Linked DNA regions of Homo sapiens: all the other regions are linked to region 2. Evidence: promoter capture Hi-C in 16 types of primary human blood cells and fetal thymus (Javierre and others, 2016). All regions are on one chromosome and are shown on one strand. Each heading gives the region's core, a stretch centred on a gene start or on the middle of the fragment in contact. The rest is flanking DNA. Distances are from core to core; before and after follow the strand shown.

The links. The method cuts DNA at HindIII sites, captures the fragments that hold promoters and counts their contacts. A CHiCAGO score of 5 or more calls a contact.
Region 1: a fragment that was not itself captured here is called in contact with the fragment with the promoter of MYNN in region 2 in 4 of 17 cell types (neutrophils, naive B cells, total CD4 T cells and 1 more); the score reaches 11.6 in neutrophils.
Region 3: a fragment that was not itself captured here is called in contact with the fragment with the promoter of MYNN in region 2 in 1 of 17 cell types (fetal thymus); the score reaches 5.0 in fetal thymus.

The regions. Positions count from the first base shown.
Region 1 is chr3:170,384,192-170,387,737 of GRCh38, reverse strand. It overlaps SKIL (SKI like proto-oncogene), which reads right to left. Exons shown (of 7, transcript NM_005414.5): 4 at 2,973-3,205. Among named protein-coding and RNA genes, the nearest start is that of SKIL, 28 kb to the right of the region's middle. RefSeq lists a silencer at 3,021-3,221. The HindIII fragment of the contact is 1,974 bases long and covers 279-2,252 here.
Region 2 is chr3:169,771,976-169,775,445 of GRCh38, reverse strand. MYNN (myoneurin) reads right to left here and starts at 2,050. Exons shown (of 8, transcript NM_018657.5): 1 at 1,984-2,050; 2 at 885-1,181. The coding sequence starts at 1,150. It overlaps TRV-AAC1-1 (tRNA-Val (anticodon AAC) 1-1), which reads right to left and starts at 3,216; the gene lies at 3,144-3,216. RefSeq lists enhancers at 1,951-2,245, 1,884-2,387, 1,961-2,510, 3,401-3,470. The HindIII fragment of the contact is 7,916 bases long and covers 1-3,387 here.
Region 3 is chr3:170,337,941-170,341,433 of GRCh38, reverse strand. No RefSeq gene overlaps it. Among named protein-coding and RNA genes, the nearest start is that of SKIL, 18 kb to the left of the region's middle. RefSeq lists a silencer at 2,546-2,746. The HindIII fragment of the contact is 2,313 bases long and covers 364-2,676 here.

The sequences.
Region 1 (3,546 bases), core at 16-2,515, 610 kb before region 2:
TTTAGCCGGGATGGTCTCGATCTCCTGACCTCGTGATCCGCCCGCCTCGGCCTCCCAAAGTGCTGGGATTACAGGCGTGAGCCACCGCGCCCGGCCTATAGCAGCATTATTCTTAATTGCCAAAAAGTAGACCCAATGCAAATGTCCGACTGACGAAGGAATAAAAAAAATGTGGTATATTCACATAATGGAATCTTATCAGGCCATAAAAAGAAGTACTGGTACATGCAACAACATGGACTGTGAAAACATTATCTTTCATGAAAGAAGCATAAGCTTCTTGACCAGACATGAAAAGCCACATATTGTACAATTCCTTTTATATGAAATGTCCAGAATAAGCAAATCCATAAAGATAGAAAATAGATTAGTGGTTGCCAGAGGCTTCGAGAAAGGGAGAATCAGGGAGTGACTCCTAATGGATTATAGGGTTAATTTTTGGAGTGATGAAAACATTATGGGCCGAGGCGGGTGGATCACCTAAGGTCAGGAGTTCAAGATCAGCCTGACTAACATGGCGAAAACCCTGTCTCTTACTAATAATACAAAAAAATTAGCCAGGCGTGGTGACACACGCCTGTAATCCCAGCTACTCAGGAGGCTGAGGCAGGAGAATCGCTTGAACCCGGGAGGCAGAGCTTGCAGTGAGCCGAAATCACCCCACTGCACTCTAGCCTGGGCGACAAGAGTGAAACTCCATCTTAAAAAAAAAGAAAGAAAAGAAAACATTATGGAACTAAATTAGCTGTGATGGTTGCACAACTTTGTGAATGTATTAAAAACCACTGAATTGTAGGCTTTAAAAGGGTAAATTTTATGGTATATAAATTATCTCAATAATTTTTTAGAAGTCATTAGAATTAATTTAAGAAATAAAATACAATGTAAATATGGCATAATAGTCATTACTAATTTTTGTTTACCATATTTAAATCTGAAGAAAACTGAGTTTTAAAAATCTCAAAATTGGCCAGGCATGGTGGCTCACATCTGTAATCCCAATGCTTTAGGAGGCCAAGGCAGGAGGATCACTTGAGGCTAAGAGCTTAATGCCAGCCTGGGCAATACAGTGAGACCCTGTCTCTACAAAAAAAATGAAAAAATGAGGCAGGCGCAGTGGCACATGCCTGTAGTCCTAGCTACTAGGGAGGCTGAGGTGCAAGGACTATGAGCCCAGCAATTTGAAGCTGCGGTGAGCTATGAATGCATCACTGTACTCCACCAGCCTAGAGCAACAGAGTGAGACTCTGTCTCTAAAAAAGAAAAACGAAACAAAAAACCCTCAAAATAAATGTATAGAAAACCCCTGGCCGGGCGCGATGGCTCACGCCTGTAATCCCAGCACTTTGGGAGGCCGAGGCAGGCGGATCACCTGAGGTCAGGAGTTCGAGACCAGACTGACCAACATGGAAAAACCCCGTGTCTACTAAAAATACAAAATTAGCCGGGCGTGGTGGTGCATGCCTATAATCCCAGCTGCTCAGGAGGCTGAGGCAGGAGAATCACTTGAACCTGGGAGGCGGAGATTGCAGTGAGCCGAGATCACACCGTTGCACTCTAGCCTGGGCAACAAATACGAAACTCTGTCTCCAAACAAACAAACAAACAAACAAAAAAACCAGAAAACCCCCACCCAAGAATCAGCCAGGCGTGGTGGCTCACGCCTGGAATCCCAGCACTTTGGTTGGGAGGCCGAGGCAGGCGGATCACCTGAGGTCAGGAGTTCAAGACCAGCCTGACCAACATGGAGAAAACCCGTCTCTACTAAAAATACAAAATTAGCGGGGTGTGGTGGTGCATGCCTGTAATCTCAGCTACTCAGGAGGCTGAGGCAGGAGAATCTGGGAGGTGGAGGTTGCGGTGAGCTGAGATCTCACCATTTTACTCCAGCCTGGGCAACAAGAGTGAAACTCCTCAAAAAAAAAAAAGAAAAAAAAGAAAGAAAGAAAGAAAAGAAAACCCCCAAGAATCTCAATTCTCTATAAAAACTTAAATAAATAGAGGACCCTCCAACTGTTCCAATGCAGCTAAAGTAACTGTCACACTGCCTAATCACTAAGCAAAGCTGTGCTGCTATATGGATGGTAACACAGGCAATATCTGCAGACATGTCTCATTTAATCCACAGTATTTTAAAAGGCACGGTAAGTAACCAGCTATTTTTCTTTTAAATGACCAGTCAATATTCCACATTTATGCTATATGCCTGGCCCCCAGAGCTTTCAATCCTTGCTTTATTCCATAACTAAGCTTCCTTGAGTTCTATACCTAACTACTCTTACTTACATAATACTTCTTATTATTAAATGGTGTCTCAGTTCATGGCAAATCAGAAAGAAAAATAAAGGTTGGGTGCGGTGGCTCACAACTGTAATCCCAACACTTTGAGAGGCCAAGGCAGGAGGATCACTTGAGCCCAGGAGTTCGAGACCAGCTTGAGCAACATACCAAGACCATCTCTACAAAAAAAAAAAAAAAAATTTTTTTTTTTAATTAGCCAGGCACAGTGGTGTGCGCCTCTGGTCCCAGCTACTAGGGAGGGTGAGGTGGGAGGATCACTTGAGCCCAAAGGTTGAGGCTGCAGTGACCGCAATCTCACCACTGCACTTCAGCCTAGGCGATAAAGACTCTGTCACAAAAAAAGAAAAAAAAAGGAGGAAAGAAAAACAAGGATCTCCTGAAGACTGACAGCAAATAAAAGGTAGGAAAGGAAAAAAATTCGGACAAAAATAACTTGCAGTCTGAGGCCAGGTAGCCTGTATCTATCTCAGTCTCCTGAGCTATCACCACGCTAGAAAAGTATAGCAACTGAGATTAAAATAAATCACCCAGAGTTTTGAAGGGTAGCATTTTTAAAGGTAAAAGCTCCAATTATCTGAAAATTTAGCTCAAACAAAAAGCCTGTTTGAAAATGCTCAATAAATGTGTTCATTAGATATTTAATTTTAGAAAGATAATCTCTGAATACTTACCTAAACGGCTACATAATTCTCTACTTGTTTTTAAATCCATTTTCTCCTGTTCCTCAAGTGAGACATCTGGATAAGACACTGTTTTTTGAAGTTTACCACTACTGTGAGCCTTCTCTGACTGTCTTGATATGGACTTACTTGCCTCTGTCTTTGTGAGCTCTTTAGACTGGGATACAGCAGAAGTAAGTGACACATTTGGGGCAACCACTTTATCACACATGTATAAGTAGTAGCTGAAAACAAGTAAAAGCAAAACAAGACATATATTACATATTACAATTAAGTAAAAATCAAATATGTAACATGCATTTCTGTGGTTAAACTTTTTTTTTTCTAACCAAAACAGACAATATTACAACTCAGAAAATAAAGGTCACAGTAAAGAATTCTTAGGAAAAAAATCAACACTTTAGGCATTACAAACAAAATTATAAGGGATTTTTTGTTAGTTTGCAAGTAACCCAGGCTGGAGCGTAGTGGTATGATCATGGCTCACTGTAACCTCTAACTCCTGGGTTCAAGCAATCTTCCTGCCTCAGCATCCCAGGTAGCTGGGACCACACATACCCATTTT
Region 2 (3,470 bases), core at 801-3,300:
AGATTATGAACAGTCTATTCATGTTCACTTTCATAAGAGAGACAGAAATAAGACAGGGGTAATTTAATCAGTTTCTCTTTGCTTTTATTCCCTCCACCTTTTCCCCTACAATCTGTAAATGTATTGATATTAATCTAATTATATGGTTCGTTATACAGGGGAGACACACAGTGCCTACATTATCAGATTCCTCAGAACCCACTTCTTGTTAATGCAGTGACATCAGTAAGCATCTTAGAGAATCATTCTAGCATCTCTGACCTTACTTCAGTATTAGTACTGGTAGGTTAATAGAGATAACAGGAGTCAGAATGAGGGAGACAGAAGACCAGAGGAATTCAAGGACCAAAAAGCAATGGGAAACTGGAAGTAACTTAGAATTTTTTGTTTGCAGCCTGGCCAGCATGGTGAAACCCTGTCTCTACCAAAAAATACAAAAATTAGCCAGGTGTGGTAGTGCACACCTGTAGTCCCAGTTACTAGGGAGGCTGAGGTGGGAGAATCGCTTGAACCCGGGAGGCAGAGGTTGCAGTGAGCCGAGATTGCCCCACTGCACTCCAGCCTGGGTGACGGTGAGCCCGTCTCAAAAATAAAATAAAATAAATTCATTGTGTTTAATGTTCAAGTTTACATAAGTGAAATCACAGGCTTTGTTTCAGTAAATAAACGTGTCAGAAATCTTACTGTTTATTATCTGTGCTTATGAAAAATATTGCCTGCTCATCCTAAATCAGTGATACTGATTTCTTTATAAAAACAAACATTGTGTGCATAAATAGGTGAAGAATTTGAGTTCAGAGAATGAATGGAAAAAATACAAATCTACTTTTGCTGTGAAGACTACTGACTAGCTTTTATAACTGAAAATAAAATGTGTACTTTACCTGTCAAGATTTAAAGTTCCTGTGTATATAAACTCCAACAGTTTCTGAAATCCATCAGCCTTCACCTGACTCTGATCAAGAAAGACATTGTTCTCAGAAGTGCTTCTGTAGATCGCACCAAAATACTCACTAAAGGAGGCCAGCACATTCCTATGAGCTTTAAACTGGAATTCCCCAATCACTATGGTACAGTCACAGAGAAAACCTGCTTCCCGCTGTTTGTTCAGTCTCTCTAAAAGGTGCTCACAGTGGTGCGAATACTGCATTTTGATATCAGAATGGAATTTTACCCTTGATCTAAAAGACAAAAAGAAACAGTAAATCAGTAACCGTAAGTTCTCATCAACGTTCAGTGAGGGAAGGGACAGAGGACATAACTTAAACAATTTTAGCCCCCTTGAAAATCCTTATCAAACATACATGGTTAAGAATGAAGGGATGAGTGCCTTTCTATCTTTGGTTACCTTGATCAACTAACACAATCCTTTGGACACATCAATAAGTGACGGTGAATGGCAACACTTCTACCACCTGCAAAAAGCACAGCAAAACCTGACGCTTTCACATCTGTTGAACCCTCAGATTTTCAAGCTCAGTAGACATACTTATGTTACAAAAAAATTTTTTAAACCACTAAGACATGATCTCTTGGGACAGATAGGGGCAGAACAGTACGAGTTTTTAAAAACTGCTCTCAAGTCACCAAAACCTGTTAGTTTCCCCAGTGCAGTTTCTCCAAAACGAGAGGTGGCTGCCCAGAAAGCCGGGAATGCGCCCGGCCATGGCTTGCTGTCAAAGGTTCTATCACTCGCGCTAAGGAGGCCACACCTTCTCCCTTCCCACTCTCTACGCGAGGCGGCATCCGAGAGTGACAACCAAAGCCAGTCCCTCCTCGGCTTCTGCCGCCCTGCCCTCTGCCCAGCTCCCACTCCCGCGAATTTCCACAGCAGAGGTTGTGGCCCAGGCCACCCCGGGGCTGCCTAGCCCAAGCCTTCCACCTGCGCCCCGACCCGTGCTGGAACTCCAAGGAGCCTGCCCTCTGATGGCCCAGGCTCTAGAGAGACCGGGATGGCGGGCTGGGGGTGAAGTAGGAACTCACCGATAGCAACCCAAGGGGGGAACACAGTTTCTTCACTCTGTCTCCGCCATCTTGGGAGGACGTCACCGAGCCACGCTCCGCCCCTCCCTTCCTTCCACGGTGGCGTCACGTCCGGCTCTGTCTTCCCGTGGCAGTGCGGGAGGTTCTGGGGCCATGGGGGTCCGGCGCCGGCCAGGGCGGTACAGGATGTACCACAGAGACCCACTCCCCAGCATGCCAGGGGTCCCCCGAAGCAGCAGGCGTCATGGATACGAGAGCTGAGGGCTCGCTAGCTCGCAGCGCTCCGCCTGTCTTCCTCATCGCGAGCATTCTGGTGCCGGCAGTCAGCGTCTGGCGCTCTGCCGGGGCTCTGCGCCGAGGCCCGGCAGCACAGCACCGCGGGCCTCTCTCCTGAAGCCAGCTGCGCACTGCGTGCGGGGGCTTGTAGTTGCTTGTCTTCTCCCATCATCCTCCCCTTCCTCGGGGCCCCACCGGTGGAAACTGCTGCATGTGTACTCGGATCTCTGCCATAGGGGATTTTTTAGCTGAGACTTGGCACCCCTTTCCCGCTTACGTACCTGAAAACTCTTGGCACCCCCTGGTTTTTTTGTGCCCCAGCCAACTGTAGCTCAGCTTCCAAGATGCCCTTACCTGGTGACAGAAGTCTGGGATGCACGAAAGCGGAGCAGCTGGGCACAGTGGGCATGCGCAACATTAGAGGAAGGTGGGCTTTATACCGGAAAAGGTTTTCCTGCGTCTGGACCAGAAGATTTTTAATACGATTATTTACAGCCACTTCAGACGAAAAACCAAGTGATATAATACAAAAATGCTCAGGAGGCGACAGGACTAACCACTTTTACACTTTGATCTTTCCTTCTAGGCTGTACATTATTTTTTCAGTGTTAGCTGGTGAGTCAAATTCATTTTTTAAAACCCGGGACACATGTTCCACGTGGCAAGGCTTCCATAAAAACATTTGGTGAACGAATAAAGTAACAAAAACTTACAGTTCAGACTCTCAAATTGCTATCATGTCTTTTGAAGGACCGGCATACATTAAGCTAAGGCTTCCCTCAGAAAAAAAAACAAAACAAACAACAAAAGAAAACAAAGCGTGATCTCACGCTTTCTTCCAAGCGAAGGAAAAAAAAAAAAAAAAAAAAAGGGATTTTTTAGTGTGTTTCCGCCCGGTTTCGAACCGGGGACCTTTCGCGTGTTAGGCGAACGTGATAACCACTACACTACGGAAACCCCACTTTGGAGAGGGTTTTGTAAAGTCCTTGATATGTAAGTGTCAATTCGCAATTCTCAAGTGATTATTATCAAATTGAGAGGAATGAATATAATGTATTTAAAGAAAAAAACAGAAAAGGAAAAATAGCCTATGCCCAATTGAACAGAGCTGAAACCATTTCAAAAGCTTGAATCTGCACGCACTTTCTTCCAAAGTGCCCGGGTACCGCAGTAGAAACCAGGCACTCCCGAGTTGCCCTTCCTTTGGGTGG
Region 3 (3,493 bases), core at 271-2,770, 570 kb before region 2:
TGGTGCCACAAGCCTGATCAGTAGTGCTGCTCAGGGAAAGGGAACCCAGAAGCCTGGTGTGCTGGCAAAAGGGTAAGAATTTTCCTACCAGTCAGATTTCTGGCTTATCTCTCTGTACAGATGGTTTGATGAATGGTTAAAACAAAACAAAACAAACAAACAAACAAACAAAAACCAGTGCTTATTTCCTCTGTAAAGTTTTGATTAATGTGAAAAGAATTCTAAGGCTAATCTTAAGCTGGTGTATTTTGTGCTATGAATTTGTTTTTCTGTGTTGAAGGGTACTTTAGGATAAAACACGGACTTGGAACACCTGTAAGCCCACTTTTCAAGACCACCCAGCAAGCTGGTCAGTAACAAGCTTGGCTGCAGCTCCCTGAAACAAAAAAACTGGATGAAGTCTCCACGTTTTTTTATGTTCTTGGGAGCCTGACCTTTTAACCATGTGGCAGTACTTTATTTTGGTCTCTGCCATCAGGGAACAGGAATTTTAGGATTTATATCATATTCATCTCTAAAAATCATATTAAATTGTTAAAAAGCCTTTGGAAGCTCAAAATTAACTACTCTAGGCTCGTTCCAGGAAAAGAAGTGGGGACTGCCCATGCTGTAGCTCAGAAGCTGAGATTTTACACTTTCACAGTGGTGGTCCAGGTTTGATTCCCCACCTAGGAAGTAAGTCGTTTCTGGTTTAATATCTGCGTAAACTTGTCTATTCTCTTCTCCTCCACAGACTGTCTTACATTTTCCTTTCTCTATGTACCTGGGAGATTACCTTTGGTAAGTTTAAAAAGCCAGAAATATCTGCCATTTGGCATAAGAAATTCTAAAGGAACTTTAATAAAGAGTGCTATGGTTAAAATCAGTATAATTAAAAGTGGATATTCAAGCTCTAACAGCCTGGACTCCTTGGGAAAAACAGGAGGCACAGGAGACCCCTTTCCTGGCCATGTTCTTCCAAGGGCTCCACCATAAAGCCATTAATGCAATTAAGAAACTTAAAAACCAGGCCGGGCATAGTGGCTCACACTTGTAATCCTAGCAGTCTGGGAGGCTGAAGCAGGTGGATCATGAGGTCAGGAGATCGAGACCATCCTGACTAACACAGTGAAACCCCGAATCTACTAAAAAATACAAAAAATTGGCTGGGCGCGGTGGCTCACGCCTGTAATTCCAACACTTTGAGAGGCCGAGGTGGGCAGATCACCTGAGGTCAGGAATCCCAGACCAGCTTGGCCAACATGGTGAAACCCCGTCTGTACTTAAAACACAAAAAATTATCTGGATGTGGTGGTATGCACCTGTAATCCCAGCTACTTGGGAGGATGAGGCAGGAGAATCAACTGAACCCGGGAGGGGGATGTTGCAGTGAGCCGAGACAGTGCCACTGCATTCCAGCCTCGGGAACAAGAGCAAGACTTCATCTCAAAAAAAAAAAAAAAAAATTAGCCAGACATGGTAGTGGGCGCCTGTAGTCCCAGCTACTCAGGAGGCTGAGGCAGGAGAATGGTGTGAACGTAGGCAGTGAGCCTAGATTGTGCCACTGCACTCCAGCCCAGGTGACAGAGCAACACTCTGTCTCAAAAAAAAAAAAAGAAACTTAAAAACTGGCAAATGAAAAATCTTACACCTACTGTAGTAATCTTCTTCTGTCTTTCTGTGTACCTGTATATGTGTTGTGTATAATGTTTATACAAAAAAGCTCTAATTAATTGGCTTAAACAAAAATAATCACTTAAATCAAATATTTTGAAAGCATGGCCAGGTGCGGTGTCTCATGCCTATAATCCCAGCACTTTGGGAGGCTGAAGTGGGTGGATCACCTGAGATCAGGAGTTCAAGACCAGCCTGGCCAACATGGTGAAACCCCATCTCTACCAAAAATACAAACATTAGCCAGGCATGGTGGTGCCTGCTTGTAGTCCCAGCTACCCGGGAGGCTGAGGGAGGAGAATCACTTGAACTTGGGAGGCAGAGGTTGCAGTGACCCCAGATTGCACACTGCACTCTAGCCTGGGTGACAGAGTGAGACTCTGGCTCAAAAAATATATATATATATTTTGAAAGCAAAACACAAACTGTAATGCCTTTTAGTTCATGTGACTTCAGTAATCTTTGGGAAATAAAAACAGCTTTAAAAATTATTGATAAAACATTTAGTCTAAATTATACAGGTCAAATATTAAGTTTGCTAAATGCTTTAAGGTCATAAACTGCTTCTTTAACTTTTAAAAATTGTTCAATGGATATCTTAAAGCCATTAGATTCTAGATAAGGCCTGCAGACATGTGGAATTAGCCATGCCCCCTAGCTATACAAAGAAGATTATAAAGAAAGAGATTTTATGTAAGAAAAGATCTTGTGTGATAAATTCTTGTTCTAAAGTAAATTGATGGGTTGTTTAAAAGGAGGGAAGTTTAGGGCAAGTCACAAAGTCCAAGAATGTCTCAGATGGTCTGTGTAAGTCGTGAAAGGGAATTTATGCAAGAAATGTACAATTCAAAGGTTGTTAGGTCTCCTAAATGCTTCATAAAATGCCACTATGACTCTTACTGTACAACTTGCCTGCTTAAGTAAGGTAAGGCCTGGGGCTGTGTGGAGTTAGCCTTGCCCCCTAGCTATGCTGGAGAGTCAGCCCTTATCTGCACTTCTGTGTGGTATGTCCTAGGCTAAGCTTCACACCTAGTACACAATTAAAATGGCTTACTAACCAGGGTTTTCACCAAAAGTAGAAGTGGCTAAAAGTTAACATTGTGACATGTAATTGAGACTATTGAATAAACAATTTTACATGTAAGATGTCTAAGGAAAGTAGAATGTACTTTTGGTAAAAGATTATAACAAGGCATGGGAATATGGTTTTATTGCCTAAAGGGTTAAAGAATTGTTTTAACTTAGAGTAAAGCTAAAGGTTTAAACAAGTTATGGAAGGTTTATAAAAATTAATTTTAAGAAATTCTGTATGTGAACATGTTGACTAAAGTTAAAGGGGTATTATTCAGTTTTTCCATAAATTAAATATTGGAATAAAAGCACAACAGGTTTTTCTTAGAGCACTAATCTGCTCTTTCACAAAAAAAAAAAAAAAAAAAGAAGGGGTTATAAAAGGTTTATAAGAATCTTACCTTACGGCTAAACATTAAAATTGGGTAAATATGTCTATAAGGTTTTATTAAAAATTGGGTTTAACATTAATAGTACATTAATGTGAAGGTGAAATTTGGCTTATTTGGTATAAGAATCATACAGGAAGCATTATCAAATGTGGAATGGTATTTTGCTTTCTTTGGACTATATTTGCATAAATGTGTTATTGGTATAAGTTCCAAAGTTATGGAAACTCCTGTAATTCTAATATGACTTAGTGTATGTTATCAGAAATTATAATTGTTATGTAAAATTTTGTGTGCCACAGAAGTAACCAAATTTCCTTGTCAATTGTGGCTTTAATAGCGGCTATCCTAAAACTTTTTATCTTCCACAGACAAGTGTT